Regions from separate parts of the Homo sapiens genome. Here all the other regions are linked to region 3. Evidence: promoter capture Hi-C in 16 types of primary human blood cells and fetal thymus (Javierre and others, 2016). All regions are on one chromosome and are shown on one strand. Each heading gives the region's core, a stretch centred on a gene start or on the middle of the fragment in contact. The rest is flanking DNA. Distances are from core to core; before and after follow the strand shown. Region 1 has its middle 1.6 kb from the start of ZNF585A. Region 2 overlaps ZNF836 (zinc finger protein 836). Region 3 holds the start of ZNF559 (zinc finger protein 559).

Region 1 (2,877 bases), core at 202-2,701, about 28 Mb before region 3:
ATTTCTCAAAATATCCTTAGAATTCTCTTGAGTTTTAAATCTTTCTCTCAGTAGTAATGTTCCTTTTTCTTTCTCATGTTGTTTTCTTTCTCTATTTTTTTCAAAATAGACTTTTTTAATTTTAATTTTATTTTTTTGAGACAGAGTCTTGCACTGTCGCCCAGGCTGGAGTGCAGTGGCGCGATCTCAACTCACTGCAACCTCTGCCTCCCGGGTTCAAGTGATTCTCCTGCCTCACACTCCCGAGTAGCTGGAACTACAGGTGTGCACTGCCACACCCAGCTAATTTTTGTATTTTTAATAGAGACAGAGTTTCACAATGTTGGCCAGGATGGTCTCGACCTCTTGACCTCGTGATCCGCCTGCCTTGGCCTCCCCAAGTGCTGGGATTAGAGGCGTGAGCCACGGGCACCCAGCCTTTAATTTTTATTTTAAGTTCTGGGGTACGTGTGCAGGATGTGCAGGTTTGTTACATAGGTAAACGTGTGCCATGGTGGTTTGCTGCACCTGTCAACCCATCACCTAGGTGTTAAGCCCAGGATGCATTAGCTATTTTTCCTAATGCTCTCCCTCCCGCCACCCCACCCCCAACAGGCCCCAGTGTATGTCGCACCAGGAAACCAAACAAATTGTGTGACTCGCTTTATTGTAGTGGTCTAGAACCAAACCCTAAATATCGCTGAGGTATGCCTGTGTTTGTATAATACTATTGTTATGGAAATAAAAGGGTCTCAATCCAGACTCCAAGAGAGGGTTCTTGATCTCATGCAGGAAAGAATTCCAGGTGGGTTGTAGAGTGCAGTGAGAAGAGATAGTTTATTGAAAGCTACTCCACAACAGAGTAGGGTGTCCTCAGAAAGCAAGTGGAGGAACATCTGTTAAGCTTTTCTTATATAGGGGTCTTGTCTATGTAAAGACTAAAGTAAGCTGTGCCTATGCGTGGGTGGCCTGACATTATGACAAAATTTATTATTCTATTGATTTAAAGAAAACTATCCCTGACATTTTAGTAAGTACATCAAAGTATAACTATAATGATCTTGAAAGCATTTATTGTTATGGGTATTGGACATCTGGACTTTCTGTTGTTCTAGGAGTTTGTCTTTGCAGGCATTACAGGGCTGCTTCCTTCGCTGTAAACACATTAGGACCATGAGTTGTGACTTGCAATGAATGTGCCTTGCTAGTGTCAAGATGGAGCTGAACTTAAAATGGTGTCACTCTGGGTCTCCTAGGTTTCATCTTCCCTAACACTATGACCACACCTGCTGTCTTCTTGATGTTTCCTTGTAAATGTTTTTAATTCCTTTCTTTTTAAATTAGAAATTTACTATGAAAATTTCACACAAATACTATGGAAGAGAACATTATAATGAGTTCTGTCTACTTATCACTCTGCTTTAACATTTATCAACATTTTCTTTTGCAATACCATATACCCCTTCTCAGTGGAGTTTTTTTTTTCTCAGTGGAGTTTTTAAAGCTAATATTATTCCACCCATAAATATTTCCACACGAATCCCTAAAAGTTAAGTCATCTTCTTTTTAACAGAGCTGCATTACTGACAAAATCAACAGTAATTCTTAGCCCCTTGGTAGAAATTGTGTGTTTACTAACGGACTTCCACAGATGTTTCCTTAGACCGTCCTTTCGGAGAAGAAAGAAAACCTGAGATCAGCAGAGTCTAATTCTCTAAACATATTTTTAAGCCGAGTCCCAGAGACAGACATAACTGGCCTGAAGGCATCCAGCATGCCCACATCAGAGTGTAGGTTCAATTCCCTGAAAACAAGTTTCCCACCTGCTGGAACTGAACACATTGGGTAGTAATTTCCCACCACTGTTCAGGTAGAACTTCCTGTCAGAAGCTGAGCTGTGAATCATGTTTAGGAGTTCACCAAGTGAAAGGAATTGTATCTTTACAACTCCTCATCCACACCCTCCAAAAAGGGGAGTAAGGAGGTTTCAGAATTTCCACAGAGGAGAAGCTAAGGGTCAGAGACTGCACTTAAAGCTTCATTGACATGGTAAGGCGATTGTTATTAATTATATTTTAACTTCAAGGTAAATAAAAACAGTCTTCTTTAGGTGCTTTTAGTAACACGTTGGCCATACTAAAGACTATTAGTGTTGTTATTATTGCTGCCTACTATAGTTGCACTTGAGGTATTTAGTGTGGAGGGTAATGGGTGATTCAAATCTCTATTCACCTTCCCACCCGACCCAGCCCTTCAGAAGGGGACGCCCGGACTTCTCCTCCCTCCTCTGGTGGTATCTCCCAGGAGAGGATTGTATTAATACTATTGGACTTCTACCCTATTTCCCAAGGCGGTTTCTCCCATTAAAAGTTGTACCACTCTTCCTGCAGCCTACTACTCATTCAGATGTCTCTCAGACTTTCAGGGTGGTTTCACTCAAGAGATGACTCCCCTAGTGACCTTTCCACCTTTTCCCTGAATGGCGTCTGTAAAAAATGGACTGTACTATCCTGATTCCTCCTATCATCTGCCTGTGGTTTCTCCCAGGATCCCCTTCACTTGGTGATTTTTCCCTGGCTCCTCTATTCCCTGGTAATTATTATCCTCAGTGTCCTGTATTCAGAAAGGTAACTTAGCTTTTCTAAATATAACATACAGCACCAGACCCACATTTCCAGTAACTTTCTCCTCCGAAATAGAAGCCTAGTCAGACAAGGGTCACACTCCAGCATCCTATGTAACTATACCTGCCTCGCTCTAGGAAACCCTGCCAGCGGCCAATTCCTCTGCTCTACGGAATGGATATGCTTTCAAAATGGCGGCCCACGCGAATAAACACCATAAGGGCGCGGCCATGTTCTCTGCCGGACAGCGCCACATTACGGAACCTGTGCGCTG
Region 2 (3,060 bases), core at 561-3,060, about 43 Mb before region 3:
ATAGAAGATCATTGTGGTAAAGTTTGGTAACTGTCTAGTATAAACGTTACTTTTAGTGTAGTATGTTTTCAATATAAAATATTTATGAATAGTAGTTATTTAAAAAAAAACAAATAATACTAGTTATTTTTAAAATCTATGTTCGGCCAGGCGCAGTGGCTCACACCTGTAATCCCAGCACTTTGTGGGGCCGAGGTGGGCGGATCACGAGGTCAGGAGTTCGAGACCAGCCTGGCCAATATGGGGAAACCCTGTCTCTACTAAAAATATAAAAATTAGCCAGGTGTGGTGATGTGTGCCTGTAGTCCCAGCTACTCAGGAGGCTGAGGCAGAAGAATAGCTCGAACCCAGGAGGTGGAGGTCACAGTGAGCTGAGATTGTGCCACTCCACTCCAGCCTGGGCAACAGAGCAAGACTCTGTCTCAAAAAAAAAAACCAACGAAAAAACTCCCATGTTCATTATATTTTGTAGGTATCCTTCCTAAATGTATGACCAAGGAATTACCACCAATAGGGAACAGTAATACAGGAGAAAAATGCCAAACAGTGACGCTGGAAAGACATGAATGTTATGATGTTGAAAATTTTTACTTAAGGGAAATCCAGAAAAATCTACAGGACCTTGAGTTTCAATGGAAAGATGGTGAAATAAATTATAAAGAAGTGCCAATGACCTATAAAAACAATCTTAATGGTAAAAGAGGTCAACATAGTCAAGAGGATGTAGAAAACAAATGTATTGAAAATCAGCTTACATTAAGCTTTCAGTCACGTCTGACTGAACTGCAGAAATTTCAAACTGAAGGGAAAATTTATGAGTGTAACCAATCTGAGAAGACAGTTAATAACAGTTCCCTAGTTTCACCACTTCAAAGAATTCTTCCTAGTGTCCAAACCAACATTTCTAAAAAATATGAGAATGAGTTTTTGCAGCTGTCATTACCCACCCAACTTGAGAAAACACACATTAGGGAAAAACCTTATATGTGTAAAGGGTGTGGCAAAGCCTTTAGAGTGTCTTCAAGTCTTATTAACCATCAGATGGTACATACTACAGAGAAACCTTACAAATGCAATGAATGTGGCAAAGCCTTTCATCGGGGCTCACTACTAACTATACATCAGATAGTCCATACAAGGGGGAAGCCATATCAATGTGGTGTATGTGGCAAGATCTTCAGACAAAATTCAGATCTTGTAAATCACCGGAGAAGTCACACTGGAGAGAAACCGTACAAATGTAATGAATGTGGCAAGTCCTTTAGTCAAAGTTATAACCTTGCAATACATCAGAGAATTCACACTGGAGAGAAACCTTACAAATGTAATGAGTGTGGGAAAACCTTCAAACAAGGCTCATGCCTCACTACACATCAGATAATCCATACAGGAGAGAAACCATATCAATGTGATATATGTGGCAAGGTCTTCAGGCAGAATTCTAATCTTGTAAATCACCAGAGAATCCACACTGGAGAGAAACCATACAAATGCAACATATGTGGAAAGTCCTTTAGTCAAAGTTCCAACCTGGCAACTCATCAGACAGTTCATAGTGGAAACAAACCTTACAAATGTGATGAGTGTGGCAAAACCTTTAAACGGAGCTCCAGCCTCACTACACATCAGATAATCCATACAGGAGAGAAACCATATACATGTGATGTATGCGACAAGGTCTTCAGTCAACGTTCACAACTTGCAAGGCACCAGAGAAGTCATACTGGAGAGAAACCTTACAAATGCAATGAATGTGGCAAGGTCTTCAGTCAGACTTCACATCTTGTGGGGCATCGGAGAATTCATACTGGAGAGAAACCTTACAAATGTGATAAATGTGGTAAAGCCTTTAAACAGGGCTCATTACTCACTCGACATAAGATAATTCATACCAGAGAGAAACGTTACCAATGCGGTGAATGTGGAAAGGTCTTTAGTGAAAATTCATGCCTTGTAAGACATTTAAGAATTCATACTGGGGAGCAACCTTACAAATGTAATGTGTGTGGCAAGGTCTTCAATTACAGTGGAAACCTTTCAATTCATAAGAGAATACATACGGGAGAGAAACCTTTCCAATGTAATGAATGTGGCACAGTCTTCAGGAACTACTCATGCCTAGCACGTCATCTAAGAATTCATACTGGGCAGAAACCTTACAAATGTAATGTGTGTGGCAAGGTCTTCAATGACAGTGGAAACCTTTCAAATCATAAGAGAATTCATACTGGAGAGAAGCCGTTTCAATGTAACGAATGCGGCAAGGTTTTCAGTTACTACTCATGCCTAGCACGTCATCGGAAAATTCATACCGGAGAGAAACCTTACAAATGTAATGATTGTGGCAAAGCCTATACTCAGCGTTCAAGCCTCACTAAACATCTGATAATTCATACTGGAGAGAAACCTTACAATTGTAATGAGTTTGGAGGGGCATTTATCCAAAGTTCAAAACTTGCAAGATATCACAGAAATCCTACTGGGGAGAAACCACACAAATGTAGCCATTGTGGTAGAACTTTTAGTCATATAACAGGCCTGACGTACCATCAGAGAAGGCATACTGGAGAGATGCCATACAAATGTATTGAATGTGGCCAGGTCTTTAATTCCACTTCGAACCTTGCAAGGCATCGGAGAATTCACACTGGAGAGAAACCTTACAAATGTAATGAATGTGGCAAGGTCTTTCGTCATCAATCAACACTAGCACGTCATCGGAGTATTCATACTGGAGAGAAACCTTACGTGTGTAATGAGTGTGGCAAAGCCTTTAGAGTGCGTTCAATTCTGGTTAATCATCAGAAAATGCATACTGGGGACAAACCTTACAAATGTAATGAATGTGGTAAAGCTTTTATTGAAAGGTCAAAGCTGGTGTACCATCAAAGAAATCACACTGGAGAGAAGCCATACAAATGTATTGAATGTGGCAAGGCCTTTGGGCGGTTTTCTTGCCTCAACAAACACCAAATGATTCATTCTGGAGAAAAACCTTATAAATGTAATGAGTGTGGCAAATCTTTCATTAGTCGCTCAGGCCTCACTAAACATCAGACA
Region 3 (3,225 bases), core at 142-2,641:
CCGCCAGCCTCAGCCTCCCAACATGCTGGGATTACAGGCGTGAGCCACCACACCTGGACTAAAGACATTTGTTTTACTCGAGCTACAGATGTTCTCTAGATCAGTATTTGTTTTTTTTTCTTCTTTTTGAAACAGGGTCTCACTCTGTTGCCTAAGCTGGAATGCAGTGACACAATAATGGCTCACAGCAGCCTCGACCTCCCATGCTCAAGTGATCCTCGCATCTCGGCCTCCAAAGTGGATGGGACCACAGACACCACCATGCCCAGCTAATTTTTTATTTTTAGTAGAGACAGAGGCTTGCCCTATTTTTTCCAGGTTGGCATCAAATTCCTGGGCTCAAGCGATCCTCCAGCCTCAGCCTCCCAAAACGCTGGGATTACAGGTGTGAGCCACCTTGCCCCGCCCTCAGTAAGACTTTCAAATGAGTAACTGGTAGAAAACCCACCTGTCAAAAGTTATCTTCGCATTCATTATCAATTCAATCCCTCCTGCTAGTAAATCAGCCCGCACCGTGTTCCTGGGGATGCCCTCGTTTTGAACCTCTGGGGGAATCTACAGGGCGCTAGAGTGAGATCTAGGTGATGGCCTGGAACCACAGTTGAGTAGTCCTGTGTTTTTCCTTGGTGGTAAATTTTACAGTTATGTGCATTCATCCACTCATGCATTCGATGGTATCAGATCCATGTGCTCTCGAACAACCACCTGAAAAGGTTTCTTTCCACCTCGACACAACTTAAACTTCAAGACCCGACACCCACAGCCAGAACAAGTGCATGAAGTGCTCACCGGGACACGACAGAATTGTCAGGTTGCTGAGGCCAGGAGGACACCAAGCGAAGGTCACCGTGAACAGGAAGGCAGAGATGCTGTTCCTTATAGAGAAAAGGCACAACGCTGGATGTGGAGACTTTTTTTTTTTTTTCCATTAGAGATGGTTGGGGGGGGGGGTCTCCCTATGTTGCCCTGCCTGGTCTTGAACTCCTGGCCTCAAGTAATCCTCCTACCCAATCCGCCCAAAGCGCTGGGAATGACAGGCGTGAGCCGCCGCGCCGGGCCCTATGAGGCTTCTGCAGAGGGGAGCAGGGAAAATGGAAAGGCCGTGCCCCCCGCCTCCTCCCGGGCCGAGGCCCCAGCGCAGCCGCCTCGACCCCTGAGGACAGACCTGACTGTGGCTCTCAGAGGAGGGGCCGCGACTTGGGAGAGCCCACAAGATGCTCGAAATGCCCGAAAGTGCACGGGACAGGCTCCATTTCACTGGGCACCTCCCCTTTCCACCCTTCTACTCTCGCGTGGCTGCACCGGGACACCACCGAACGCCGCCCAGAAACAAAAACTTACCTCAGACGCCAACGGGAACGCGCTGTTAAGATGGCGGCCGTTATGCGCATGCGCCCACGCAGACACGCCGCGCACGCGCAAAGGCTAGGACCACCTAGGGGGCGGGGCCTCGGGTTCCCGGGCCCATCAGCTGCTGCGGCTTTTTCCAACCCAGAGCTGAGAGGAAATGCTGTTTACCTCCCCGAAGAGCGCAAGTGTCACCGGTAGGGGGTCTTGACTGCAAGCTGTCCAGGTTACTGGCGTTTTGAACAAAGAATTAGACAAAACGCCCAGCAAAGCAAAGAAAGAATGAAGCAACAAAAGAACAAGAGCTGGGATTTGTTGAAAACGAAAGCATACTCCACAGTGTGGGAACTGGCCAAGCGGCAGCTCAAGGGCTCCGAAACAGAACCTTCATGAGTCCCAATACCTCCTAGAATTTTCCCATTGGCCACTTCATGCTCACCTCCTGTAAATGAAGCGGTAGCCCGCGTTCAGTCTGATTGGTTGCAGAAAGCAGCCAACCAGAGTCTGAAGTTACAAAGGTCACACTCCTGTGCAAACATCTGATTGGTTGCAAAAAGCAACCAATCAAAGGCTAGGGTGAAGTTACGACGTTACAAAGTTACACTTCTATGCAAATGAAGACTCAACCGGCCATCAGTCTGATTTGTTGCAGACAGCCAATTTCCTATCTGCCAGCAGAAAAGGTCAAAGGGAGTAGCCTCTGGTCCTTTTGTTATTTAGGCGAGGAAAGTGAGGGTTTTCCTTTCAATTTAGTTCTAGGAAGTCGGCCTGAAACAGCCTTAAGTTCCCTGCCTCCCGACTCTATTCAGCCTCACAAGGGCTTGATTTTTGGTCATCTCACACTCAGAGACTAGAATGCTCCTATTGGAATTTGTTCAAAAATTAGCACATAGAGGCTGGGCCTGATGGCTCACGCCAGTGATCCCAGCACTTTGGGAGGCTGAGGCAGGCAGACCACTTGAGCTCAGGAGTTCGAGACCAGCCTGGGCAATATGGCAAAACCCTATTCCTATAAAAAAGACAAAAAACACAAAAATTAGGACGTAGTTAAGAGCATAGATAAGATTCATGCGGACTTCCTAAAAGTGAAAACACCAAGATCTGGGGTCGGGGAATCTAAGGCCAATTCGTGATAATTTCCTAAAGTTAAATCAAAGGAAAAACACCTGGGGCTGGGGGCAGGGCACCTAAGGCCAATTAACACAAACTTCCTGAAGCTAAACCAAAAGGAAAAACCCCATCTCCCCAAGATCAAAGACTACTCTCTCTACAGTAAAAAGTAAAGTAGAGGTTCCTCTTCAAAGACTTTCCTGCCCATCTAATTAGGAATAAATAGTAACTTCTGTTAGAAGCAAAATTTATTCAAAGACCTGTACTAATGTGTCCGGAATTGGTGGGTTCTTGGTCTCACCGACTCCAAGAATGAAGCCGGGGACCCTCGTGGTGAGTGTTACAGATCTTAAGGTGGCACGTCTGGAGTTTGTTCCTTCTGATGTTCGGATGTGCTCGGAGTTTCTTCCTTCTGGTGGGTTCGTGGTCTTGCTGGCTCAGGAGTGAAGCTGCAGACCTTCGCGGTGAGTGTTAGAGCTCTTAAAGCGGCGCGTCTGGAGTTGTTCATTTCTCCCGGTGGGCTCGTGGTCTCGCTGGCTTCAGGAGTGAAGCTGCAGACCTTCGCGGTGAGTGTTACAGCTCATAAAAGCAGTGTGGACCCAAAGAGTGAGCAGTAGCAAGAGTTATTGCAAAGAGTGAAACAACAAAGCTTCCACGGCGTGGAAGGGGATCAAAGCGGGTTACCACTGCTGGCTGGGGCAGCCTGCTTTTATTCTCTTATGTGGCCCCACCCACATCCTGCTGACTGGTAGAGTCAAGTGGTCTGTT

The links. Contacts are between HindIII fragments. The CHiCAGO score rates a contact against its expected background, and 5 or more counts as called.
Region 1: a fragment that was not itself captured here is called in contact with the fragment with the promoter of ZNF559 in region 3 in 1 of 17 cell types (naive B cells); the score reaches 8.3 in naive B cells.
Region 2: a contact is called between a fragment that was not itself captured here and the fragment with the promoter of ZNF559 in region 3, in 1 of 17 cell types (non-activated CD4 T cells). The highest score is 5.6, in non-activated CD4 T cells.

Annotation. Positions count from the first base shown.
Region 1 is chr19:37,172,811-37,175,687 of GRCh38, reverse strand. No RefSeq gene overlaps it. Among named protein-coding and RNA genes, the nearest start is that of ZNF585A, 1.6 kb to the right of the region's middle. RefSeq lists an enhancer at 2,767-2,877. The HindIII fragment of the contact is 1,132 bases long and covers 886-2,017 here.
Region 2 is chr19:52,154,953-52,158,012 of GRCh38, reverse strand. It overlaps ZNF836 (zinc finger protein 836), which reads left to right. Exons shown (of 5, transcript NM_001102657.3): 5 at 473-3,060. Among named protein-coding and RNA genes, the nearest start is that of ZNF836, 15 kb to the left of the region's middle. The HindIII fragment of the contact is 2,093 bases long and covers 764-2,856 here.
Region 3 is chr19:9,322,345-9,325,569 of GRCh38, reverse strand. ZNF559 (zinc finger protein 559) reads right to left here and starts at 1,391. Exons shown (of 7, transcript NM_032497.3): 1 at 1,342-1,391; 2 at 790-875. It overlaps ZNF559-ZNF177 (ZNF559-ZNF177 readthrough), which reads right to left and starts at 1,391. Exons shown (of 13, transcript NM_001384659.1): 1 at 1,342-1,391; 2 at 790-875. RefSeq lists a silencer at 988-1,127 and an enhancer at 1,298-1,547. The HindIII fragment of the contact is 3,488 bases long and covers 1-3,108 here.